6 separate regions of the Homo sapiens genome follow, and regions 1, 2, 3, 4 and 5 are each linked to region 6. Evidence: promoter capture Hi-C in 16 types of primary human blood cells and fetal thymus (Javierre and others, 2016). All regions are on one chromosome and are shown on one strand. Each heading gives the region's core, a stretch centred on a gene start or on the middle of the fragment in contact. The rest is flanking DNA. Distances are from core to core; before and after follow the strand shown. Region 1 overlaps PSKH1 (protein serine kinase H1). Region 2 overlaps RANBP10 (RAN binding protein 10). Region 3 holds the start of FHOD1 (formin homology 2 domain containing 1). Region 4 overlaps TSNAXIP1 (translin associated factor X interacting protein 1). Region 5 overlaps NUTF2 (nuclear transport factor 2). Region 6 holds the start of RIPOR1 (RHO family interacting cell polarization regulator 1).

The links. The method cuts DNA at HindIII sites, captures the fragments that hold promoters and counts their contacts. A CHiCAGO score of 5 or more calls a contact.
Region 1: a contact is called between a fragment that was not itself captured here and the fragment with the promoter of RIPOR1 in region 6, in 2 of 17 cell types (naive CD4 T cells and endothelial precursors). The highest score is 6.7, in naive CD4 T cells.
Region 2: a contact is called between a fragment that was not itself captured here and the fragment with the promoter of RIPOR1 in region 6, in 3 of 17 cell types (erythroblasts, endothelial precursors and M2 macrophages). The highest score is 5.3, in erythroblasts.
Region 3: the fragment with the promoter of FHOD1 here is called in contact with the fragment with the promoter of RIPOR1 in region 6 in 1 of 17 cell types (endothelial precursors); the score reaches 7.0 in endothelial precursors.
Region 4: a fragment that was not itself captured here is called in contact with the fragment with the promoter of RIPOR1 in region 6 in 1 of 17 cell types (endothelial precursors); the score reaches 5.7 in endothelial precursors.
Region 5: a contact is called between a fragment that was not itself captured here and the fragment with the promoter of RIPOR1 in region 6, in 1 of 17 cell types (endothelial precursors). The highest score is 5.7, in endothelial precursors.

What each region holds. Positions count from the first base shown.
Region 1 is chr16:67,910,566-67,914,513 of GRCh38, forward strand. All of the region lies in intron 2 of PSKH1 (protein serine kinase H1), which reads left to right. Among named protein-coding and RNA genes, the nearest start is that of PSKH1, 19 kb to the left of the region's middle. The HindIII fragment of the contact is 440 bases long and covers 1,325-1,764 here.
Region 2 is chr16:67,799,882-67,804,203 of GRCh38, forward strand. All of the region lies in intron 2 of RANBP10 (RAN binding protein 10), which reads right to left. Among named protein-coding and RNA genes, the nearest start is that of RANBP10, 4.5 kb to the right of the region's middle. RefSeq lists an enhancer at 2,268-2,347. The HindIII fragment of the contact is 6,576 bases long and covers 1-4,322 here.
Region 3 is chr16:67,244,540-67,249,025 of GRCh38, forward strand. FHOD1 (formin homology 2 domain containing 1) reads right to left here and starts at 2,942. Exons shown (of 22, transcript NM_013241.3): 1 at 2,671-2,942. The coding sequence starts at 2,871. SLC9A5 (solute carrier family 9 member A5) reads left to right here and starts at 4,440. Exons shown (of 16, transcript NM_004594.3): 1 at 4,440-4,486. The coding sequence starts at 4,476. RefSeq lists enhancers at 135-184, 295-344, 1,117-1,776, 4,177-4,486 and silencers at 1,880-1,979, 2,880-3,249, 3,892-3,981, 4,002-4,091, 4,392-4,486. The HindIII fragment of the contact is 13,502 bases long and covers 1-4,486 here.
Region 4 is chr16:67,821,818-67,826,211 of GRCh38, forward strand. TSNAXIP1 (translin associated factor X interacting protein 1) reads left to right here. Exons shown (of 16, transcript NM_001288990.3): 5 at 1,809-1,902; 6 at 2,766-2,962; 7 at 3,320-3,455; 8 at 3,850-4,019; 9 at 4,100-4,259; 10 at 4,335-4,394. Among named protein-coding and RNA genes, the nearest start is that of TSNAXIP1, 17 kb to the left of the region's middle. RefSeq lists an enhancer at 3,673-4,394. The HindIII fragment of the contact is 2,103 bases long and covers 708-2,810 here.
Region 5 is chr16:67,861,599-67,865,763 of GRCh38, forward strand. It overlaps NUTF2 (nuclear transport factor 2), which reads left to right. Exons shown (of 5, transcript NM_005796.3): 2 at 3,504-3,631. The coding sequence starts at 3,533. Among named protein-coding and RNA genes, the nearest start is that of EDC4, 9.4 kb to the right of the region's middle. The HindIII fragment of the contact is 295 bases long and covers 1,677-1,971 here.
Region 6 is chr16:67,526,907-67,530,815 of GRCh38, forward strand. RIPOR1 (RHO family interacting cell polarization regulator 1) reads left to right here and starts at 1,923. Exons shown (of 22, transcript NM_024519.4): 1 at 1,923-2,008. LOC100505942 (a long non-coding RNA gene) reads right to left here and starts at 1,839. Exons shown (of 2, transcript NR_104656.1): 1 at 1,411-1,839. RefSeq lists silencers at 1,880-1,989, 2,020-2,249, 3,250-3,529. The HindIII fragment of the contact is 8,124 bases long and covers 1-3,909 here.

The sequences.
Region 1 (3,948 bases), core at 295-2,794, 380 kb after region 6:
GCAGTCTCCACCTCATGGGTCCAAGTGATTCTCCTGCCTCAGCCTCCCAAGTGGCTGGGATTACAGACCTGGGATTACAGGCCCGCATCACCTCCCCCAGCTAATTTTTGTATTTTTAGTAGAGATGAGGTTTCGCGACGTTGGCCAGCCTGGTCTCGAACTCCAGACCTCAGGTCATCCGCCGGCCTTGGCCTCCCAAAGTGCTGGGATTACAGGCGTGAGCCACTGCACCTGGCCAGAAAATCTAATCTTAAAATGTTAGAATATTCTGATTCACATATTTAAGCAGCTTCTTGTGCGCCAGCAAACACTAACCTGCAGGTCACATTCAACCGCCAGGCTGTCAGTTTGTGTCTTTGGATCCATTGATAGTCCTGATGCCTCCAAAAATGTGTGAGGTTTCAGCACTGTTGGGAGCTGATGGAAGGTACAGAAAAAGTGAGGGCTGGTTGGTCCTTAGGAAGGATGCTGACTGGGTAAAAGACAAGGCTGACTGCAGGAAGCAGCAAGCATGGCAGCTGGAGCCTAGTGGTGTGCTGGGAAGGCTGTGAAGAAGAGAGTCTGTGTCGGCTTTATGTGGGAGGGAGGTGAGCTTGGCAGGATGACAAGATTTTGCCAAGGCAGTGAGAACCCCCTCTTCTAGGGGGCTCCCCATAGGGTGTTTCCTTCAGATATGGACCTGCTGAGGTGCTATCCATGCCTCTTGTAAATCTTCTGTGGAGGGGAAGGAGCTCTGGAAGCAGCTTCCTTCTGTGGCCCAGCTTTCCTCCCAGGGGTGTGGGCTGGGCCTTTTCTGGCCCCAGCCAGCATTTCCTTCAAGAGTCACCCAACAGCTGGCCAGGTGCGGTGGCTCACGCCTGTAATCCCAGCACTTTGGGAGGCCGAGACAGGTGGATTACTGGAAGTCAGGAGTTCAAGACCAGCCTGGCCAACATGGTGAAACCTCCTCTTTACTAAAAACACAAAATTAGCCGGGTGTGGCAGCGGGCACCTATAATCCCAGCTACTCGGGAGGCTGAGGCAAGAGAATCACCTAAACCCAGTAGACAGAGGTTGCAGTAAGCCAAGATTGTGCCATTGCACTCCAGCCTGGGCAAAAAGAGTGAAACTCTGTCCCCCCCAAAAAAAAAGAGTCACCCAACAGCCTCACACCACTTACTTTGCCTTTAGCACTTGAGGTCCTGTGCTGTATCACCTTCCCTGACAGCTTCTGGATGTGGCTATGGGGTCCATCGGGGACTTCCTCCTGCTGGGGAGGGGGCTGGCATTCTCTAGGGGCATCCCCATGTCATGCCTCTCAAAGGTGGCACAAGGAAGGGAGGGAAGCTTTCCTCCTGAGGCTGACTCTGTCACAGGCACAAGGGAGGGTATCTGTTTGTACCACTCTTAGGAGATCGTTGCGTAGGAGTCAGGCAGGTGGTGAAGATTTATACCAGTAACTGGGATCTGTGGGCCTAGGGGTGAAGGGGCCACTGTAGACCACTAGATGCTTACTGCAGAGTGGTCAGCCTTGTGGAGAACTCAGTCCTGGCCCACTGTCATTCTCAGATTTTATGTGGACAGGTGGGTTCTGCAGAAAATCTGGCTGTCACATGCTTATAGCACTGAGCAGTAAATGGGACCATACTGGTACTGAATGAGAGCCTGGGAAGCCAGAGAATAGTCCCTTATACTCAGTTAAAAGTCAGGAGTGCCCAACAGTGAATTAACTGTTACACTCGGGACCATTCCAGTCTAATTAGATTTGACTCAAGGCTCAGATAAAGCTTTGGGTTTGGTTCCCAGCATCATCATGGCAAGTGTGAGCTTTTGGTGTCTATGGAAGGCACTGGGAAGAGTGAGAGGAGCAGGCACAGGTGGTGATAGAGGGAACAATTTAAAGACAAGCCCCTTTATCCTGATGATGATCCCCTCAGTAACGTTGGGGCAATGCCTTGATGTTTACTTGGTTCTCAGATATGGATTGGCCATCAGGTTGGCACAATCTGTGGCTATAAACTGGCAATAAGAAATCCTCTCCCAGCCGGGTACGGTGGCTCACGCCTGTAATCCCAGCACTTTGGGAGGCCAAGGTGGGCAGATCACCTGAGGTTGGGAGTTCGAGACCAGCCTGACCAACATGGTGAAACCCCGTCTCTACTAAAAATGCAAAATTAGCCGGGCGTGGTGGCACATGCCTGTAATCCCAGCTACTCGGGAGGCTGAGGCAGGAGAATCACTTGAACCCATGAGGCAGAGGTTGCAGTGAGCCGAGATTGTGCCATTGCACTTCAGCCTGGGCAACAAGAGCGAAACTCTGTCTCAAAAAAAGAAACAAAAAAAAAGAAATCCTCTCCCAGGCTGGGCATGGTGGCTCACATTTGTAATCTCAGCACAGTTTGGGAGGCTGAGGCAGGAGGATCACCTGAAGCCAGGAGTTTGAGACCAGCCTGGGCAACATAGCGAGACCCCATCTCTTAAAAAAAATTTTTTTTAGCCAGGTGTGGGCACATGCCTGTAGTCCCAGCTACTCAGGAGGCTGAGGTGGGAGGATCACTTGAGCCCAGGAGTTCAAGGTTGCAGGGAGCTGTGAATGTGCCACTGCACTCCAGCCTGTGTGAAGACGGAGTCTTGCCCTGTTACCCAGGCTGGAGTGCAGGGGTGCGATCTTGGCTCACTGCAGCTTCCGCCTCTCAGGTTCAAGTGATTCTCCCGCCTCAGCCTCCCGAGTAGCTGGGACTACAGGCATGCGCCACCACGCACGGCTAATGTTTTGTATTTTTAGTAGAGATGGGGTTTCACCATGTTGGCCAGGCTGGTCTCAAACTCCTGACCTCAGGTGATCTGCCTGCCTTGGCCTCCCAAAGTGCTGGGGTTACAGATGTGAGCCACCACACCTGGCCAAGACCCTGTCTTAAAAAAAATTTTTTTTTTTAAAAAGCCTGTCCTGGTGTTCTGGGATAGAGCTATAAAAGCATGCCAGGTTGCTGGCAGGAGCTTGAAGGAGGTGCTGCCTCTGCTTACCAGGAGACCGTCTAGCTGTGAAGTGAGTGGCTGGAAGGAGTGATTGCTGGGTCCCATTCTAGCGATGTCTGTCCTCACCTCCATGCAGAAAAGTAAAGAGAAACCAGAGCCCTGCCAGGGAGTGGCAGAGGCTGGTACTTCTCAGACTCCTGATGTTCATACACATCCCCTGGAATCTCGTTAAAATGTAGATTCTGATTTAATAGGTCTAGGTAGGGCCTGAGGGTCTGCATTTCTAATAAACACCAGGTGGTGTTGATAACACTGACCTATAAGAACATGCTTTAGGAGCAGGTTTTTTAGGCAGGTGCCTTAAAAGTGGGCTGGGGTGGTGAGGGACAGTCTTAGAGAAGAGGGAACCTGGAATTTGGAGCATGGCTGTGAGGAGTCAGACCAAGAAAAAGGGAATGATAGCTACAGAAGTATAGGAGGGAGAAAGCAGGAGGCAGGCCTGGGGGCAATGGCCTGAGGGACAGGTTCATATATAGCTGTGGTCCGTCAGAGGACCCTGCAGGGTACTTGGGAAGTTCAGTTGTCCTAATAGCAGGCTCTGGAGAACCACGTGAAGTTGTAGCTGAAACTGAATTTTTTTTTTTTTGAGATGGAGTTTCGCTCTTGTTGCCCAGGCTGGAGTGCAATGGGGCGATCTTGGCTCACTGCAACCTACGCCTCCTGGGTTCAAGCGATTCTCCTGCCTCGGCCTCCCAAGTAGCTGGGATTACAGGCATGCGCCACCATGCCCAGATATCTAATTTTGTATTTTTAGTAGAGATGGGGTTTCTTCTTGTTGGTCAGGCTGGTCTCGAACTCCCAACCTCAGGTGATCCGCCTGCCTCAGCCTCCCAAAGTGGTGGGATTACAGGCGTGAGCCACTGTGTCCGGTCTGAATTTTTTTTTTTTCTTTGAGATGGAGTCTCGCTCTGTCGCCCAGGCTGGAGTGCAGTG
Region 2 (4,322 bases), core at 565-3,064, 270 kb after region 6:
GGAGGCTGAGGAGGGCAGATCATGAGGTCAAGAGATCTAGAACATCCTGGCCAACATGGTGAAACACCGTCTCTACTAAAAATACAAAAACTAGCTGGGCATGGTGGTGCACGCCTGTAGTCCCAGCTACTCGGGAGGGTGAGGCAGGGGAATCACTTGAACCCAGGAGGCGGAGGTTTGCAGTGAGCCAAGATTGTGCCACTGCACTCCAGCCTGGCAACAGAGCGAGACTCTGTTTCAAAAACAACAACAACAACAACAACCAAAAAAAAAAAACAATGGGTACTGCGCCCTGGTGTCTGGAATGAATGAATGAGTGCACTGCTGCCTGGCCAAAGGAAGTCAGCTGCAGGAGCAAGGGAAGGCTGGCTGTGGTCAGAGACCCCTGCTCTGGGCCTGGGCCCAGACACTGGCTACAGAGGAAAATGCCCCCACCCCTCTCCATGCCTTCCAGTGCTCTAGCCCAGGCCTACTACTCTTGGGTAAAGCAACCATCACATGTCAGGAGGCCTCCGCCGCTGGGATGATGTTACAGTCTATTTTGAGGGTCACACTGGAGCATCTGTCAGCCTAGCCAGCCACACCCTCCATGTGTCATCACTAAGAGCCAGGGACACCCACAGGTCCATGAACTCTGCCTGCAGACATTGCTCCTCCCCAGGGACCCTCAGCTTCAGGCCCTCCTTCGCTTCCTAGAAAGACAGACCTGGATGCCCCTTATCTCCTGGCACCACTGGCAGTGCTCTGATGTCTCCTCACCCCACCAGACCCGCTCCCCGAGTTCACAGCTCTGGTGACTCGGCAAAATGCAGTTGAAGCCCATCAGTCTGTGCCAAGCTCTTAGCTCAAACACAGCCCCTCCTACTCCACAGAGCTCTCTTATACTTGAGGAGTGCCCAGAAAGCCTAGCACCCAGAAGTCAAGCTAGTTACCCATCAGACTCATAGGTCTAACAGGTCTCGCCTACTGGGGAACTCCTACTCATTCCTCCCAACTGTTCCCAGGCTCTGCCTCCTCTTGCAGAAAGACTTTCAGTCCACTCTCTACTGAATGGGCCACAGGCTTCCTGAGGACAAAGCTGATCTGTGCTGGCTTTACATCTGTTCTCCCTATACCTAGTATAGGGCCTGGAACATAGTAGGTATATATAAATATTCTGTGAAATCTTGACATGAAACTTTCCTTATTAGACTAGCTTAGTGTGTTCTTCTCCAAAAGATATTGTCAAAACAAAGGACGTTCTGGAGAACAATGACACTAACAACTGGGTTTATAAATACCTTTTACAAAGGAGGTGTACTCAAATCTACAGAAAAGCAAGTTTACAGATTAAATGGAACAGTAAGTTGATCAAGCCCGGCCCAGAGCATGCCACAATTCTCTGGCCCTACACAGCACCATGCACCTTTCAGCTCTGTCCCCTAACATTGCAATCTGGTAGGAATCCAACAGAACATTCCTTCACTCTACCCAGGGAAGAAATGCAACAGCTACAATGGGGAAAGGCAGCAGCAGCATGGACATGTGTGTCTAGGATCAGGCGAGGACATCTGATAAGTCAGGCTACTCCACTGCACACCCTAAGCCCTGCAGCCAGGGTAGGCCACCAAACATCCCAGGGACTCAGGGCTCACTCACAAAATGGGAAGGTAGATGATCACCTGCTCTAGCCACTTGCCAGAGATGCTGTGAGGATCAAACTAGGTAACACAGGAAAGCTAGACAACCAGTTAATGCTTGGGTCATGGACTAAACCAGGATAAAAAACACACCTCCAAAATCCATGGGAGGCTGACAATGGTGGCTCCTGCCTGCAATCCCAGCACTTTGGATCACTTTGAGGCAGGAGGATCACTTGAGGCTAGGAGTTGGAGACCAGCCTAGACAACACAGCAAGATCCCATCTCTATAAAATAGTTAAAAAAAAAATCAGCTGGGCATGGTGGCTCATGACTATAATCCCAGCACTTTGGAAGGCTGAGGTGGAAGAAATACTTGAGCCCAGGAATTCAAGACCAGCCTAGGAAACATTGTGAGACCCCATCTCTACAAAAAATAAGAAAATGAGCCAAGCATGATGGCACACACCTATAGTCCCAGCTACTCAGGAAGCTGAGGTGGGAGGATTGACTGAGCCCAGGAAGTTGAGGTGGCGGTGAGCTGTGATCATGCCATTGCACTCCAGCCTGAGCAACAGAGCGAGACCCTGCCTCAAAAAAAAAAAAAAAAATCTACAAAAAAAGGGAAATGAGCCAGTTGATGTCTGCCTGCCCTGTGTAACTGCCTTTGGCCTCCTCAAAACCCACCTGGCCCATACTAACATGTGGCTGCATCCCAGCCATGGGAAGGCTTTCAGGGATTCCATAAAGAGACCATGAGGAGCTATTCATACTCTTGCCATCTGACAGTGGTCAACTGAAGCAGGATACCACAGGTATACATGACCTGAGACCTTTCTAAAACTGATGTTTCCTTGCTGGGCACCATGGCTCATGCCTGTAATCTTAGCACTTTGGGAGACTGACGCAGGTGAATCACCTGAGGTCAGGAGTTCGAAACCAGCCTGGCCAACATGGCGAAACCCCATCTCTACTAAAAATACAAAAATTAGCCAGGCGTGGTGGCGTATGCCTGTAATCCCAGCTACTCGGGAGGCTGAGGCAGGAGAATCACTTGAACCCAGAAAGTAGAGGTTGCAATGAGCCGAGATTGAGTCAATGCACTCCAGCCTGGATGATAAAGGAGACTGTGTGGCAAATAAATAAATTAATTAATTAACATCTGATGTTTCCAGATCAGCTCAACAGCCATGTTTACCACATGTAAAATGCTGGGAATAGATGCCCACCTTTCTTTAGACTTCCAGTCAACACCTATAGTTCACCAATCTAACATGACACAGCAAGATCGACTAAAACTGAAATGTTAAAACCAGTTGAAAGAATCCAGATCTCCAACATAGCCAGACCTCATCTCTCAAAAAATACAAAAAGAAAAAAAGAATCCAGGTCTCTAAGTGTAAACACTTCCCTTCTGAAGTTGGTCTCTGCTCTCTACCTAGATAACTAACTCAGCTGTTATCTATGATAAAGACTAGGAGAAAACAATCCATTTTCCTCCCTACAAATTTAAGAAGTGCACTTCAGTTTCTGTGGCAGTATGAGACTCCAGCACCACCATTTTAGTCAACATTATTTTCAAGGTGCTTGTTTTAAGGGGCTATTCTCATTCACACTAGTTCAAGCACACTAAATATATGTGCTTCTATCAGACGGTGGAAGGTGAAAATAGGAGCTTTGAAGCCCTCCCATAAATTTAACTTTCCTGTCTGTAAACGCACTAGATGGGGATAAAAATGAAAGATGGCCGGGTGCAGTAGCTCATGCCTGTAGTCCCAGCAGTTTGAGAGGCCAAGGTGGGAGGATCACTAGAGACCAGCCTGGGCAACATAGCAAGACCTCATCTCTACAAATAATTTAAAAAATTAGGCTGGGTGCGGTGGCCCACACCTGTAATCCCAGCACTTTGGGAGGCCAAGGCAGGCGAATCACCTGAGGTCAGGAGTTTGAGACCAGCCTGACCAACATGGAGAAACCCCATCTCTACTAAAAATACAAAATTAGCCTGGTGTGGTGGCACATGCCTGTAAGCCCAGCTACTCAGGAGGCTGAGGCAGGAGAATTACTTGAACCTGGGAGGCGGAGGTTGTGGTGAGCTGAGATTGCGCCATTGCACTCCAGCCTGGGCAACAGGAGCAAAACTCCGTCTCAAAAAAAAAAAAAAAAAAAAAATTAGCCAGGCGTGGTGGCATGCACCTGTATTCCCAGTTACTCAGGAGGCTGAGGTGGGAGGATAACTCGAGCCCAGAAGGTCGAGGCTGCAGTGAGCTGTGATTGTGATCTTGCCACTGCACTTCAGCGTGGGAGACAGAGCAAGACCCCATCTCATTAAAAAAAAAAAAAAAAAAAAAGAGAGAGAGAGAGAAAGATACAGCAGCTTCCCATGATCAGAATTTCAGAGGCATAGAATTCTGGAGTTCAGGCAGCTTAGATGCTGGCCTGGATCCTCACAGTGCAGATCAGGAGACTGAAGCTCCAACATCTACCCAAGACCACAGAGACCTCTCAGGCAGAGAAGTTACATCACTGAGGAAGTAGGCAAGGCTCTGACTCTGGCAGTGTTGCCCCCAGCCTAGTCCCTTGGCCAAGCATTTTGCATGCACTACAAAGGGGACAGTCCCTAGGAGAAAGAAGTTCTGAATGTTCGAGAACACACCCTCAGCGTTGGCATGGTCACCAGAGGGGTTGGCAAACTTCAGACAC
Region 3 (4,486 bases), core at 1,692-4,191, 280 kb before region 6:
CAAGGCTTTCTGAGATCTGAAAGCTCTTTAAAAAGGAAGCCCCCAGGGGAACTCTAGGGGCTAGGCTCGGCCCAATGGGGTGTGTGGGTGGAGTCCCAGGGAGAAAGCAGGCTGGCCTCTGTACATCCCCAGGGAGGGGGGTCATCTGCTGGGATGATCAGGGCCAGTACCCGGGGCCAGTACCCAGAGGAGGACAGAGGCCACTTGGCTGTGTCCTGTCCTCTGCTGGACAACTGTACATAGGACGAAGCAATGAGTAAAGAACCCCTTCCTCTTATTTCTGCCCTACAGCTTGGGACAGGGATGCCCTGGTTTCTGGGCCACCTCTTCCCTCTAGAGGGCCAGCAAGACAGGCCTGAGTCATGTCTGTGACTCTGGGGCACCCACTTATAGGACTACGGGAGGAACCAGCTGTTGACATTTCCTGCAAGGAGGGGCCCTGCTCCCCCTTGCTCAGCTCTCTGATGTCCCTGTCTCTGCCCTATTCTCAGCCCCTCTTCCTCCAGCCTTCTATTCTGGGGCTGTGGTCATAGTTTATATTTGGGTTGAGCACATCACAGTGCATCTGACCATTCCTGGCAGAGTTGCTAGCCCCAGGGAATCCTGGCTTCTGGCATTGTGGTAACCTAGTGTGCCACCTCCATATCCCTGTGGGGGAGGGAAGGCAGTCCTCAGGTACTCCAGGTGGGAGAACATGAAATCGGGGAGACCAGGAAGGACTGCATTGGGGATGAGGAACTTATATTCTTCACCGGAGCTCAGTAGTGTCCTCAGCTAAGGAGCAGGGAACACAGGGCAGAGCACCTGGTAGGGTTGGGTGGGGACACGGGTCCCATGAGAGGGAGATAGAAGGAGTGGTTCTGAGCCTCTTTCTTGCAGCTGACTTCCCAGGCTTGCCCCCAGCTGGGAAGAGGTGTGTCAAGGGGCTGGGCATGGTGGCTCAAGCCTTAATCCCAGCACTTTGGGAGGCTTAGGCAGGCAGATCACCTGAGGTCAGGAGTTTGAGACCAGGCTGGCCAACACGGAGAAACCCTGTCCCTACTAAAAATACAAAAATTACCTGAGTATGGTGGCGCACACCTGTAATCCCAGCTATTTGGAAGGCTGAGGCACGAGAATTGCTAGAACCCGGGAGGTGGAGGTTGCAGTGAGCCAAGATAGCCCCACTGTACTCCAGCCTGGGAGACAGAGCCAGAATCCGTCTTAAAAAAAAAAAAATCGGGGGGGTGGTGTCAGGGCTAGGTCCAATCCTTGAGTTGCAGGATGAGAGGAATACAATATATTCTCTAGTGCCCCACCCTTATTTCAGGATCCGGACTTTAGGAGCCTGGAAGCGGGAACCAGTCTTAGTTCAGCACTCCTGTCTTCCCAGCCCCCATCCTGAATGGGAGGTGGCCTCCAGCTGCACACGCTTCTTCCAGGCACACCTCAATTTGCCCCTCTGAATAGGGCAAGAGAAGCGGGGGCTGAGTCAAAACTGGCGGTGAGCAGTGTCCTGCATCCTTCCAGCCATGGCCTTGAAGCCGGGGTTCTGGCCTGGACACGTGCCACTCTCCAGGCCAATAGTCTCACCACCCCTCCCGCCAGCGCTCAGAGGCGGGGCTGGCCGCAGCGCGAGGAATGCGGGCTGGGGGCCCGGGGCACATTCCAGGGAAGACCCCAGGCCCAAGGGGCAAGTTTACGCAACTCGCCGCCCAGCTGAGGCTGGGAGCAGGGGAGGGCACCCACCCCGACTCTCTCTCCTCTTCTCCAGCACTGGAGGCGGCCGGGCTGGTGGGGAGCTTGTGGAGGTGGTAGTGCGCCTCCCAGAGTCCTGGCCCGGAAACAGCGCGCCGGAAAGGGCTGCCTGCGGGGGGCTGACGGCGGCGAGAGGGAGGGGAGAGGAGGTAGGCTGGCCATCTGGAAAAGGGCCTCTTTCCGCACTGTGCACAAGTCCGCTTCGGGGCGGCAGCAAAGTAGGGCAGGCCGGCTGTTTAAAATTAGTCCGGCCCTCCCTCTCACTTTCAGGCGCGGGCCGATGGGCGGCGAGTGTCCGGGGGTGGGGGCGGGAGCGGTGACTCAAAGGGCTTTTACACCCGTGCAGCCTCCTGCGCTCTGCGGATCCCGGGCCAGACCGCTTCGCGGGGACTCCCCTCACCCCGTGAAGTCTCTCCTCGGCCGGCACTCCCATACTCCCATTGACCTACAGGGTCAAGCCCCAATCCAGCTTCCTGACACCGCAGGAAACCTCTGCCACCTCTAGTAGTCCGCCTCGGGCCCGCCCCTCCTCGTGGTCCCGCCCCCACCTCACCTGAAGCAGGTGGAAGCTGGTCCCTCCCCAGCTCCGCCTCCAGGGTCCGCTACAGCCCAAGCGGCTACCGTCACTCTGACCAGGGAAGCCACCCTGGCAGACCGACGGCGAGTGGAACTCGAGCACCTCCCCAGGTGCGCCTAATTCGAAGGGCAGTCAGAATGGCGGAGCCAAGTTCCTGGCACCCCTCTTCAGTTTCCCCTCAACTTGAGAGGGGACTCCCCCGCAGGCGGGGCAGAGTGGACCCTGGGACCCCAGCCCAAGACTTTTCCGGAGAAGAACACTCGCTCCAGCCTCTTCCCGCGGAGCACCTCCCACCAGTTTTCATGGCGCCCACCCTGAACCCCCGATCGCCCCAACCTTTCTCCGGCCTCCCTCACCTTGAGCGGCGCTCCCAGCAGGCGGTGCACCGCGGGTATCTGCGCGCCCAAGGGCAGCGCCCCGTCCAGGCTGCAGGTGGGGGCCCGGCGCGGCTCCGGAAAGTTGGCACATGCGAAGGGGTCGGTGTCTTCCAGGTACTGCACCCTCACGGTCACCACTGATACCGGCTCTCCGTCCCCGCGGTCTTCCCCGCCCGCCATGGCTCTGCGGCCGGCTCACGCAGCGCGCCTCCGAGTCCCGGCCCCAGTGCAGCTTCTACTCAAAGCACACTGTAGCTCCGCGGTTCGGGCCCGGCCGGACCGGACGCGGCTGGAGGGGCGGGGCCAGACGGAGGCGGGGCCGAGGAAGGGGGTGGAGCCAAGATTAGTCCCCGAGTGCGCGCCAGGAGGTAACCACTGCCGGAGGCGGGGCCGCCGCTAGCCACTCACAGGGCCCAATGGGAATCCCGTTAGTTCACTGGCTAGGAGGGCGGGAAAAACCGAGCTCGCGCCCCACCTTCGAGAACGCGCAGAAGGCGGGGAGGCTTTCTTTGGTCTGGGGATAGTGAGGCTGCGTTCTCTTTGAGGGGTGTTAGGGCAGATGGGGCAGAAGTTTCTTTAGATAGTGGCCGGCCAGGTCTCTCTCAGTTGAGGGACAAGATAGCCCTCATTCCTTCCATTTGAGGGGTGAGTCCCTGTGGTTTCCTCATTTAGGGAAAGCAGTGAGAGGGGGTCCCTTCAATTTGGAGCAAGAAGTGAGAATAAATTCCACCCAGTTTGAAGGAAGAGGTGGGATCAGTTCCCTTTAGTTGTGGGAGGAAGAGGGAAGGATGCCCTTCAGTTTTCTGGGAAAAGATTGGGAGGAGTCAGTTTGAGGGGGCAGATAGAACACGTTCCCCTCAGTTTTGGAGAAAAAGTGGGATGGGTGCCCCTCAGCCTGAATGAAAAGTGGAGACGGTCCTCCTCTGTTTGGGGCGCTATGAGCCGAATGCCCCTCAGATTTGGAAAAAGTTGGGTGCATCTCGCCTAGTTTGAAGGGAATCAGTAGGCTGGGTTTTCCATAGGTTCCTGTCAGCTTCATCAAAGAGATGAGACAGTTCTCTGTAGTGTGACTGAAAGGGAGGGCCAGGTGCCCCTTGGTTTGGGAGATGAAGAACAGCCTCCCTCTTCGCCTGGCACGAGCTGGGCCAGTCTGGGCCTTAGGGTTTCTGGGACGTTGGGGGCAGCGTTGTCCGTCACTGCTTTGGGGAGCGTCCAGTGCGCGTGCGCAGCTCAGGTCCGGGTGGGGGCCGGCAGGGGGTCCTGGGCTTGGCAACGTGGGCGGAGGGCGGCCAAGCACGGTCCCCTGCGTTTTGCACCCGGCCGCGCCTTGGTCCCAGGGGGGTGCTGCTCGCCGCACAGCAGCGCTGGCCGAGGAGGAGCCGTGCCCCTCCCGTCCTGACCGCGCCCCCCGCAGACCCCCGCCCTTCCCGCTGCGGGCTGCCCCAGGGGGGCCGTGGCCGCGCACCGCTCTGGATCTGGTGGGGGCGGTTTTGGGGAGGTTTGGGGGCGCGGACTCGAAGGAGTAGGTTGTGGAACTTGGGGGAGAGCTGCACTGGGGAATTTCCGGAGCTGGGACTGATTTAGGGAGGAAAGAGGAGAGAGTCCCCGACTACGAGAGTCCGAGGCAGGGTCTCGGAGCCTGGACCTGGCTTGGGGGTATCGGAGCCGGGATTGGGGGGAGCGGGCCCCACGTGCCTGTGACGCGGGGGCGCCCGGTAGGTGGCGGCGGCGACGCGGGGCCGGCGGCCGTGCGGTGCCGGGAGGGCGGCTGGGCAGGCGGCAGGATGCTGCGCGC
Region 4 (4,394 bases), core at 509-3,008, 290 kb after region 6:
TGCCTCTACTAAAAATACAAAACCTGCAGTGGTGGTACACACCTGTAGTCCCAGCTACTCAGGAGGCTGAGGCAGGAGAATTGCTTGAACCCAGGCGGCAGAGGTTGCAGTGAGCCGAGATCATGCCACTGCACTACAGCCTGGGCAACAGAGTGAGACTCTGTCAACAGAAAAAAGAAGGCCAGGCACGGTGGCTCACACCTGTAATCCCAGCAGTTTGGGAGGCCGAGGCAGGCGGATCACCAGGTCAGGAGATCGAGACCATCCTGGCTAACATGGTGAAACCCCGTCTCTACTAAAAATACAAAAAAATTAGCCAGGTGTGGTGGCAGGCACCTGTAGTCCCAGCTGCTCGGGAGGCTGAGGCAGGAGAATGGCATGAACCTGGGAGGCGGAGCTTGCAGTGAGCCAAGTTCACGCCACTGCACTCCAGCCTGGGCAACAGAGTGAGACTCCATCTCAAAAAAAAAAAAAAAAAAAGAAAACGCCAGTGAGCAGGCAAGGCTGCAATGTGGATCCAAAAGTCTCCTGAGGCTGGAGTTTCCTCACCTGAGTCAGGTGGCCTGGATGCTGTGCCCAGTCCCTGCAGCTCTGTGATCCCCAGTACCCAGGTTGGGCCACTGGACATCAGTGAACGTAGCCTGAATGCTGGCAGTTGGGCAAGCAGGGGTCACACCGTGTTTACCAGTCCAGTGGCAACAACCCCAAGCTTAAGGAACCAGCACAGATGCATAAGGAGGGAGGGAGGAAGAGAGAGAGAGAGAGAGAGAGAGATCAGATCCAACCCAGATACCAGTGTATAGTAGGGAGAGAATCACCAAATCTGCTTAAACAAGGATGATGACAGAGAATCCCTGCCTTTTGACTTAGTCATTGACTAAAGCATTTACTGAGCACTGGCTATGTGCAAGTGCAAGGCCCTGGGCTGGGGCCTTACATCGATCTCCTGAACAGATAAGGAAGAAAGCATACCACTATGGCGTAGTGGGGCTGGGCTTCAAACTCAGGGCTGACTCTGGAGACTGTGCTCATTTCAGTGAGCAATGCTGCCTCCAGAAACCTCCCATGTGTCCAAATGGGACAGAAGACCACACCCCTACTTGCATGTCAGGATGCAAGGGTACAACCTTCAATCTCCTGAATCTACCAGGCTCTAAGATGGGGAGAGGTTACAAGTGAGAGGCCAATGATGCAGTGTCTAGAAGGCAAGAGGCTGGCTGCCTGGAGAGCCAGAGAGGGGCTCAGGCACAGAGTGGATGTCTGTCTATGGTCATGGCAGTCCACTAGGCCTCAGAGACAGCATCAGGACAGGCCTCCAGAGAGCTGCCCCCCAGGCTCCGTGGCACTGTGAGGTACCCGGGTGGTATCTAGGGCATTTACTTGAATATAAGTGACCTGGCAGCCTCATGCTGGAATACTGCTAAGCCCAGTAAAGAAAAAAACAGTGCCAGGCACAGTGGCTCACACCTGTAATCCCAGCACTCTGGGAGGCCGAGGTGGGTGGATCACGAGGTCAGGAGATCGAGACCATCCAGGCCAACATGGTGAAACCTCATCTCTACTAAAAATACAAAAATTAGCCAGGTGTGGTGGCGCGTGCCTGTAATCCCAGCTACTCAGGAGGCTGAGGCAGGAGAATCACTTGAACCTGGGAGGCAGAGGTTGCAGTGAGCTGAGATTGCACCACAGCACTCCAGCCTGGGTGATGGAGCGACACTCCGTCTCAGGAAAAAAGAAAAAGAAAAACAGTTCCCCACTAAGGTTGGCAGCTGTGGGCTAGGAGATGATGGGTTCCCTTTTCTTGCCAGCCTTACAGAGAGATCTTTGAGTTCTTCATAGAGGACTTCAAAACGTACAAGCCATTACTATCCTCCATCAAGAATGCGTATGAGGGGATGCTGGGTAAGAATGCACCTCCTGCCAGGCGTAGTGGCTCACGCCTGTAATCCCAGCACTTTAGGAGGCCGAGGCGGTAGATCACTTGAGGTCAGGAGTTTGAGACCAGCCTGGCCAACATGGTGAAACCCTGTCTCTAGTAAAAACACAAAAAAATTAGCTGCGCATGGTGGCACACACCTGTAATCCCAGCTACTTGGGAGACTGAGGCAGGAGAATTGCTTGAACCTAGGAGGTGGAGGTTGCAGTGAGTTGAGATCACACCACCGCACTCCAGCCTGGGCAAAAGAACAAGACTCCATCGCAAAAAAAAAAAAAAAAAAAGAATGCAGCTCCCCTCCTTGTCCCAGCCTGGAAGGGGTGGAGAAGATCCTATTCGACCTTCTGGTGCTCCACAGCAGGGCTGGGGCAGCTACCAACTGGGCCTTGAGGTCACCAAGGCCCCTCAGCCATTCTGCACAGACTGTTCCATGATAGGGCACCCCAGAGCACCTGACAACACCTGTCATTGAGAAGCACAGGGGGGCAGTCCCTGTTGAAAATGGAGTGAACCCCAGGAGAGAGTCAGCACCTCTGGGAGTCAGCAGGCTCCCCTGCCAGGCTCAGGAGGTGCAGGGCATGGTGCAGCTGCAGGACTTAAGGCTGTAGGGGAAAGGACATAGGAGAGACCCCGGTCTTCATCTGAACTCTGCCCTTTGTTTAAAATCAAGTGCAGGAAGGCCTGAAACAGGGACCATGGCTTTGAACAAGGCATGCAGAGATTCTTGGGGTTTGCAAGCGACATAGCCACTCACCCATGACCTTAGGGTGTCTTCTGGCTGTTTGTTCTCCATGGCCCCAAAGCAGCTCTCCCACCTGTCTCTGCTTAGCCCACCAAAGGGAGAAGATTCGGGCTCTGGAGCCCCTGAAGGCCAAGCTTGTCACTGTGAATGAGGACTGCAATGAGAGGATCCTGGCCATGAGAGCTGAGGAGAAATATGAAATCTCCCTGCTCAAGAAAGAGAAGATGAACTTGCTAAAACTCATCGACAAAAAGAATGAGGAGAAGATTTCATTGCAGAGCGAGGTGAATGGAAGTGGTGTGATGATGACCAAGTCCCCGAATTCCTGCCAACTCCACGACAAGGGTGACCCCCTACCCTGCTCTGCCTTTCTACGGAGAGTGACACACTGAGCCACCACCTTCCCCCAGAGCCTTGCTAACTCCACCCTCTGCCCTGCTGCTAGGCTCAGTACTTTCCCCACAGGGGGAAACATTGGCACCTTGCCGAATTCTCAGAAATGGCCAATCTCCTTCTTCTTTCACCTTTCCTGTTCACAGTCCCTGATGGGGCCCCCCAGAACCCAGCCCACTCCCTGGGGTGACCAGCTGCATACAGGGGTCCAGGGGCAGCCCCTGACCACACAGCCACCTTCTTGCCAGGTGACCAAACTGAGGAAGAACTTGGCTGAGGAGTACCTGCACTACCTCAGTGAGCGAGATGCCTGTAAGATCCTCATCGCAGACCTGAATGAGCTGCGGTACCAGCGGGAGGACATGTCATTAGCCCAGTCGCCAGGTAAGCCTGAATTGGGAATCGGGTTTCTCTCTTCTCTGAGACGCTGGAAGACTCTGGTCTCACCCCTAAGCCCCATTCATTCAGCATTCCTAAGACCTGCTCATTCCATAACCATTCAGAGGGGAGATGTCCCTGCCTCCCGCAGGGCTGTGTATCTTCTGAGTTGAACTGAGAATTGTAGGAACACAGTTGGTAGCTGAGGCAGCCTAGGCTCCCAGTGGGCTGGACAGGCCTGGTACTCAGTTTCCTGGGCTTCTAGACTTTAGCCTGAAACCCTAGGCTGGTAGTGCTGTGGGCAAGAACCAGGGAACCCCAAACAGGAAGGGCAGAGGGCTTCAGGCAACCCCTGAGAAAGCCACGGTGACACGGGCTGGTGGGCCCCTTCCCCTGGCAGGCATCTGGGGGGAGGACCCTGTGAAGTTAACCCTGGCTCTTAAGATGACCCGGCAAGACCTGACCCGCACGCAGATGGAACTCAACAACATGAAGGCCAACTTTGGAGATGTGGTCCCCAGGAGGGACTTTGAAATGCAGGAGAAGACCAACAAGGATCTTCAGGAGCAGGTGCTGGCAGGCAGGCAGGGCCAGGAGGGTAGGACGGGGTCTCACAGGTGGGGGGCCAGGGCCAATGTCCTTGCCCACAGCTGGACACCCTGAGAGCCAGCTACGAGGAGGTTCGCAAGGAGCATGAGATCCTCATGCAGCTGCACATGAGCACGCTGAAGGAACGGGACCAATTCTTCTCTGAGCTGCAGGAGATCCAGCGCACTTCCACGCCGCGGCCTGACTGGACCAAGTGCAAAGGTGAGGGCAGCCGGCAGGGCCCCAGGTCCTGCTTACATGTGGGCCCAGACTCCAGCTCCCTCTCCCCACATGCAGATGTGGTGGCTGGGGGCCCAGAGCGCTGGCAGATGCTGGCTGAGGGCAAGAACAGCGACC
Region 5 (4,165 bases), core at 574-3,073, 330 kb after region 6:
TCATCAGAGTCTTTTCTGCTCCTCAAGGAGCCTGGCCTCAGCCTGCGGACTGTTGGGGTGAAGCAGGAGATGGTGTGGTCAGCGGCCCTCTCACAAGAGCTGTAGGAGAAGCTGTCATGATGGTCAGTCCCCAGTCTAATGTGAGGCTGCCTCTGAGCCCGGGCTTTTTTGTTTCCAGCCTGTTACTTGCACAGTAAATGTGTTAGAAACAAGATCAGAGCTTGCTGGCTATTCTGGGGAACATCTTCCAGCCTGGCCTGGACCCCTCCCTCATGTTGCATGGGGATAGGATGGGGGCTCTGCACTCTTGCTTCTTTTTTTGGACTCAAGAGTGTTGCCTCCCGTGGGAAGGGTGGGGATCGCAGGAGGGGACTTTCCTGTGTACAAAACATGGTGAGCAGGCTCTCGGTAGGTTCTGTTGTGTCTGTATGTAGCTGGATCGAGGTAGGAGGGAATGGCTTAGGGAGATGGGGATGAGGGTGGATGGCCACCTGTGGAGCTTAGGGAGTTTGGCCTTTAAGCCAAAAGCAAGGGTGTTTGTAGGGGAGGAGCATGGTCAGCTTTGTGGTTTAGAGCTCAGGGATGCAGAGTTAGCAGAAAAAAGAGACGGGCCTTGACCAGAGGACCCAGTGTCAGCACTGATGTACCAGGTGAGCTTAGGGCAAGACCCAGCGACATCACTGGATGACAGTGGATTCTGACTATGTGGCTGTTGTGATCACTACTTGGAAATAAACACAAGACAGTGAAGCAGGCCTCAATCCCACATAGTTTTGAAGGTTCCTTGTCATTTTCTGGGAGCCCCTGATGTGTCCTATTCCTCAGAGAGCTTACTCTTCCCCACTCTTCTCTGCCCTACCAGGCCAAAGGGTCTTTCTCTTCCTTTATCCCTCCACCCCATTTCCTTCCACCACCACTTCAGTCAAGGAGTTTTTGTATCAGAAAGTTATCACAGGCCAGTTATGGTGGTGCACGCCTGTAATCCCAGCACTTTGGGAGGCCAAGCTGGGTGGATCACTTGAGCTCAGGAGTTTGAGACCAGCCTGAGCAATATGGTGAAGCCTGGTCTCTACAGAAAACACAAAAAGCAGCCAGACGTGGTGGTGCTTGCCTGGAGTCTCAGCTCCTTGGGAGGTTGAAGTGGGAGGATTGCTTGAGTCCTGGAGGTCAAGGCTACAGGGAGATGAGATGGCATCACTGTACCCTGACCTGGGGGACAGAGCGAGACCCTTTTCATGCCCCGGGACATTTGCTGGTGCTGTTTCTTCTGGTTGGCATACCCTTTCTGAGGACTGCCCAACTTTGCTCTGAGCCAAGGGTAGAAGGAGATGTGGCCCTTATCCATTCCTCCAGCTTTTCCCCTACCCTCAGAGCTCTTAGGCAGTGGGTATGGCACCTTGGAAGCTGCAGCAGGGTCAGGGCACATTGAGTGACTAAGCATAGCAAGTACCAGGTGGACGGGGCAGAAATGCCAGAGGTGGGAGCTGTGCTCTGCCTTAGGTCCTCTAAGTTTGTGTGTGAGTACAGCCAGTGTCTGACCTCTTGGAAATGTGACCAAGACCACAGTGAAGACTAGATGATGGTCCTGTGCTTTCCCCACTTGTTGATTTCTTTCTTGGCAGAGTATGAACTAGGACACACCTTGTGTTCCTGTGTGGCAGGCGTGACTGGATCCAAGCTTTCTCCCCTGCTTGCTTTAGATTTTCCTGGACATTTCTTAGTCATCCCAGCACTGAGCTTCTATTTTTAGTGCCACTACCTCCTAGGGGACCTAAAATAAAGCTGGCTTAGCTTCCTGCTCCCTCATTGGCTTGAGTGTTGGTCACAGAGCGGAGGATTGGCTGCGTTCTCACTCTTTCCCTACACGATTCCTCCCCGCTGGCTCCTCTGGCTTTGGGCGAGGTCACACGGACTGGAGTGAGCTAGCACTTACCATGTTGAGCTGAGGGCTTTATCATGTTCCTTTAGAGAAGCTTCACAACCACCGGCACTGTCAGGTTGCCATCCCCATCTTATAGTGGAGGAGGCTGAGGCCCTAAGAAGGGCAGTGACTTGCATCAGATCCCACCACTGCGAATGCTTGTCTGCTGGGGTGGAACCCACCTCCTCACTGCTTTGGTTCAGAGTCCTATTATCAGGACAGAGGGAGTGGGCTCCTCTACAGTTGGGGCCATCCACAGAAAAACATGTGGGTCTGCAGTCAGGGGATCTGCAGCAAGATGTGGGCTTCCCTACTTGGAAGCAGCCTAGCAAAGCCCAAGCGGCTCTCCCATCTGGGGCTTGGGTTTTCCATCCAGTATCCTTACAGCCATGGTCTCTAGTTGGGAGGGGGCCTCCTCTCAGAGACCCGAGAGAGACAGCTCCTTAGGGTAAAAGCAATGCTGGGATGAGGGGATATGAAGGGATGACACGTTTCCCTTCACAGCCTCCATCCCCTCTTCCCACAACCCTCAGCTTTCCCTCTGATCCTTGAACTCATGTCCCCAGCTCTGAAGTGGGTAGGAGTCACTCCCATCAATGAAGAAATATCCTAGAAAGGGCCAGGTCAGGTAATCACCTGGCCTCGGGGAAGTAAACTGCCCCCATGAGACTAAGGGATCACTTGCTGTTTTTGGCAGAGGAGGGCCCTTGGCTGGGTACAGTGGCTCACGCCTGTAACCCCAGAACTTTGGGAGGCCAAGGCGGGTGGATCACTTGCAGTCTGGAGTTCGAGACCAGCCTGGCCAACATGGTGAAATCCCATTTCTACTAAAAATACAAATTAGCTGGGTGTGTTGGCAGGCGCCTGTAATCCCAGCTACTCTGGAGGCTGAGGCAAGAGAATCACTTGAGCCCAGGGAGCGGAGGTTGCAGTGAGCCAAGATCACGCCATTGCACTCCAGCCTGGGCAACAAGAGTGAAACTCTGTCTCAAAAAAAAAAAAAAAAAAAAAAAAGAAGAGGGGCCTTGAGAATCTCCCCACATCCTCACTGGGTCTTCCATCTGTCAGCGTAGCCCTGGGACAGTGTTGGGGGCCTGAGGGCTGTAGTACAAAATAGTACACACACACAGGTATCAGTTGTTCTTGGCTGTAAAGTGGGAAGAATAGCAATAACTCTGTCCTTGCAGGTTGTTGAGAGGATTACATGGAAAGATACTGGAGGAGTGCTTAACTCCTCCCATAAGGCCCCTCCCCTTACTGGGCTTTCAAGGGCCTGCTCTGACCTTTCTTTGTTGTAGATCTACCCTTAGCACCCCTCCTGTGTGCTCCACGACCCTATCATCTATGTGTCTCATCAACCAAGAACTCAAAGGAGAGGCTGGGTCTGATCTACCTCTGGGCTCCTAGCACTGGTCTGGCTTGGGAGGGGTCTCCTGCCAGTTCCCCAGGGCCTGTCCGTGTTCTCTGAGAGAACAGATCTCAGCAAAGGACTCCAGGAAGGCCAGTGAGGGGTGGGGGTCAGTGGCTGGTCACCTACTCTCATGGTACCAATGCTTCCCTCCTGGTCTCATTGGTCTTGCAGGTCTCCGTGAGGCCGGGTGACGCTCCAGAATGGGAGACAAGCCAATTTGGGAGCAGATTGGATCCAGCTTCATTCAACATTACTACCAGTTATTTGATAATGATAGAACCCAACTAGGCGCAATTTACGTAAGTTTCCAGCTCTAGGGCCAGAATGGACCCTAGGGGATCAATTTGGATGTTGGGCCAGTGTGTCCAGTTCACAAGTTCTGGCAGCCCTATCTGGACTGGCTACACCTCTGTATCTGAACTTTTGTCCACGGGACAGGGGTCTGACGCTTGGCCCAAGTAATTACCTGGTCTATACTTTTCCTTTTGTCAACTTCCACAAGAGTGAGAATCCTGCTGTTCTGGGCTTGCCATTCCATGTGGCCAGCATTTGTCATGGCACATGGTTTTGGATTGGGCAGCAACAGGCAGAGGTTAGGGCTCATGGTGCCCTCTGGAGGCAGCAGCCATGAGCATCCTCAGTGCAAAGCTGAGCTCTCTTGGAGGCCTGGGGTCCAGCTTCCTTTTGGATCCAAGGCTCCTGAATGCTCATGGAAAACAAATGAGGTTAGCCCAGGGAGGCTGATAGGTCATTTCACAAACCCTTCTATGCAGGCATTGCTGGCTGCTCTTTTTTTTTTTTTTTTTTGAGATGGAGTCTTGCTCTTTCGCCAG
Region 6 (3,909 bases), core at 673-3,172:
ACAGTGGTGCTTTGTAGGGATGGGGACAATGCTGAGGACTGGTGAGTCAACCAGAAAGCAGCCAGGGGCTCTGAAACAGGAGAGGGCTCTGGGCACAGAGGGAAGTTTGGGATGGTCAGCAGTGAATGGATGGGAGCCCTGAGACTGGATGATATTTTAGGGTAGGGTGAATAAAGAGAAGAACTCAGCCCCTGGAAGTCATGCCCAGGTTTAAGGACTTCAGAGAAAAGGGCACTGACCGGCCCAGTGGCTCATGCCTGTAATCCCAGCACTTTGAGAGGCCAAGGTGGGTGGATCGCTTGAGGCCAGGAGGTGGAGGCCAGCCTGGCCAACATGGTGAAACCCCATCTCTACCAAAAATATAAAAATTAGCCGGGACATCTCTACCAAAAATATAGAAATTAGAAGGCGGAGGTTGCAGTGAGCCGAGATCACGCCACTATACTCCAGCCTGGGCAACAGAGGGAGACTCCGTCCCCCAAAAAAAAACAAAAAAGAAAGAAAGAAAAGGGCACTACAAAGGAAGCCCAAGAGGAGGGGCTGGAGAGTGGAGAACTGTGAGGCAGAGGTGGCTCAAGCCTGTAATCCCAGTACTTTGGGAGGCCAAGGTGGGAGGATCGCTTGAGCCCAGTTAGAGACCAGTCTGAGCAACATGAAGAAAGCCCATCTCTAAAAAACCGACCAAACAGGCTGGGCGCGGTGGCTCATGCCTGTAATCCCAGCACTTTGGGAGGCCAAGGCGGGCAGATCACGAGGTCAGGAGATCGAGACCATCCTGGCTAACATGGTGAAACCCCATCTCTACCAAAAATACAAAAAATTAGCCGGGCGTGGTGTGGGCGCCTGTAGTCCCAGCTACTCGGGAGGCTGAGGCAGGAGAATGGCATGAACCTGGGAGGTGGAGCTTGCACTGCATTCCAGCCTGGGCGACAGTGACACTCTGTCTCAAAAAAAAAAAAAAAAAACCCGACCAAACAAAACCAAGCAAACAAGCAAAACACACAAAAAAACAGCCCTCAGGACTGGTGGGGGCGGGGTACAGATATTCAGGGACCTCTTACTGTCCCTGAAACCATTCCTGGGTAGGTCTGACATACATGAGGGCTGCGGGAGTGCAAGGCCTGGAGAAGCCTCAGGGGTGTCCAGGTTGGAAGGGCCAGGGGTGTCTGATTGATGGGAGGAGCGGGGGAGTGGAACTGGCCCTTTGACCCCAACATGGGGTCGACTCTCAGCCCCACCTTTACCGACTGTGTGGAGGGCCAGCATTCTAGCCCCGGCTTTGGAAAGGACTGGGTTGCCCAACACATGGCCCTGTACCCGGACCCTGCCAGCGTCCCCACCCCAAGACTGCCCGAAAACCAGTACCCAATGAGTGGGGAATGCATGACCCGGCTATGAGCCTGGACTTACCAGCCAGACAGTGGCAGAAAGGGCGGCCTGCCTCTACAGCGACGCTGAGGCTGGCTGAAATGGCAGGGCTGAAGGGCAGCGTCTGGACCCAGAAGGTGCCAGGCGGCTTCTGGACTCCCCAAGGCCTTCACAACAGCCCTGGATCCTTTCCACCAACCAGCCTAAGCCAGCAGTAGCAGCTCCAGGACCTGTTTCAGGTGGTCACGGACAGGGGGCCCGCAAGGTCTCCAGAGCCCGAGGGATCTGGGGAGGGGACAAGCAGGCGGGGCTCCCTGGCGCTCACCGTTTTAGGGTCTGCGTGAGAAAGCCTCCCTCACATCCCCCAGGGTCTGCCCTCCCTGCAAGCTGGTGGGCTGCGTGGGCCACCGGCCTGCCCCGTTATCCGAGAGGGCGGAGCGAGCCGTGGGCGCCTCTAGGGGTGCGGGAGCCGCGGGAGCGCAGGGGGTGGGGCCCGGCGGGCCAGGGGAGGGGCGGCGGGGCGGCGGGCGGAGGGAGGGGCCGGCGCCTGCGGCGGCGACAGCGGCAGCTGCGGCGCGACCAGGCCGGGCACCTCCGAGCGCAAGGACAGCGCGAGGTCCGCGCAGCCCAGCGCAGCCATGTGAGTGTCCCGCGCCGTTTCCGGGGCTGCAGGCCGGGCGGGGAGCAGGCGCGGAGGTTCTGGTGCCCCCCCGCCGGCGCCGCCCGGTGGGTCCGGGATCTGCGGCTCTGTCCCGCCTCACCCCATCTCCCGGACCCCGGCCGCGCCTTGTCTTTCCTCCCCTCCCCCCGGGCGTGGAGAACGCAGCTTCTCCCACAAAAGCCGCCGCCTCCGGGCCTGCAGAGCCTGGCGCTGCTGCCTTCCTCCCACGGCAAGGCCCTGGCGGCCGGTGCCCCGGGGCGCTGGGATGGGCCAGGCCAGAGAGCGGGCTCAAGGCGCCAGCCTGGGCCCTGGCACGCGCGCTCCCTGGGAGCCCTTGCTGCCTTCGCCGCAGGGGAGGCTGGGCTGGAAATGGGGAGGGGGCGACGAAGGGTGCGGGCCGGCCTAGGAGCTGAGCTAATCCTCCTAGCTCTAGGGGCCGGCCTAAGCGGCTTTGTGGCCGGCCCCGAGGTGACCGAGCCTGGGCTGGAGCCGGGCTCTCCGCCCAAACCTGGCGTAGCCGAAGCCGGAGAGGATCGTCCTTGTCGGGGAACGGAGCTTTTCCCTGGAAATGGAGGTTGGCGCAAGGTTCCTGCAACAGCCGGGCCTGGGCTCTCTGCAGAACTGGTTTGGGCAAGGGGCTGCTCACCAGGGCTAGAGGTCGGATTCAGTCCAGATTCAGCACCCTTTGTCCTCCTCTCCAGGGTGAGCCCTGAGTCCGGCCTCCCCTACAGACCCTCCCCAGCCAGTTCTAACGTGTGTCCAGGCTGGCCGCCCCAGCACCTACTGTGCGCAGCCTCGTGTAACAATACTTGTGCCCTGGCTGCAGTCTGCGGGGCCGCGCCCTGGGCCTGCCGCATTCGGCCAACGCACAGCATCTGAGGAGGGTTATGACCATCTGGCAGATGCAGAAACAGGCCCAGAGAGGTTAGTAGTATTCTCAAGGTCACACAGCTGGTTTGGGAGAAGCGAGGATTAGATCTGAGTCCTTGCCCCTGCGACACCCACCTCCGTGGTATTGGAGGGAGGAGAGGAATGATAATTGGGGGCTGAGGTACAAAATACTCCAGCGGGACAAGGAGGACTGGCATAGCTCCTTCTTCCACCGCCCTCTCCGGCTTGGGTCCTGTGACTGCGGCGGGAGAGAGGAGCAAGGTGAGCCGCCCCAGGGGTCTGGGTTTGGGTGCGGGTGAGGGGAGGACTCAGGACTCTGGGCTGGGTCCCGCTTGAGAGAAGCGGGCGGGGAGGGCGCGGGTGAGTCACGGCGGCCCCTCTGCGTCGCCGCTCGGACTCAGCCCTGGCCAGGCCCGGCCCGGGGGAGGCCGCCTGGCTCCCAGCGCGCGGCCAGGGAATGTAACCAGCTGACCAGGGAGGGGGCCGGCAGGAAGTGAGGCCACCCGACAGCCTCCGCCCGGTTCCGGGGTGGGGGGTCCGGGGCTGTGCCGCTCCCCCTCCCTCCTATACGCTTGGGCAGCTGCGAGATGACGTCAGCCGCCGGGTTTGGGGGCAGTTGCCATGGAGACAAGGACAGGCTCAGAAGGGACCCCCTTCTCCCTTGCAGCCGCCCCTTGCCCAGGTTATTTTTAGCCTCTGTTTACCTCGGTCGGGGCGGCCCCGGGGTGGGGCGGGGCTAGACCCGGGGACTCCCAGAGAGGCAGCTGGCCTGGCACAGTGCTGAGATGGGCAGCCCAGGTGGTGGGATATTCCGCCGCACCCGGGTGTGCCAGTCTTGGTGTGTAGGAAGTATAGCGGGGCTGCAAGATCTGGGGCCATGCGGACAGGTCAGGGCTCCTCCACTCACGGCCATCCTGACCTGGCTGTGCTGCAAGCCCCATAACCTTTGGAACCTTGGATCTGGGTTATTTCCCATCCTGGGAACAGAC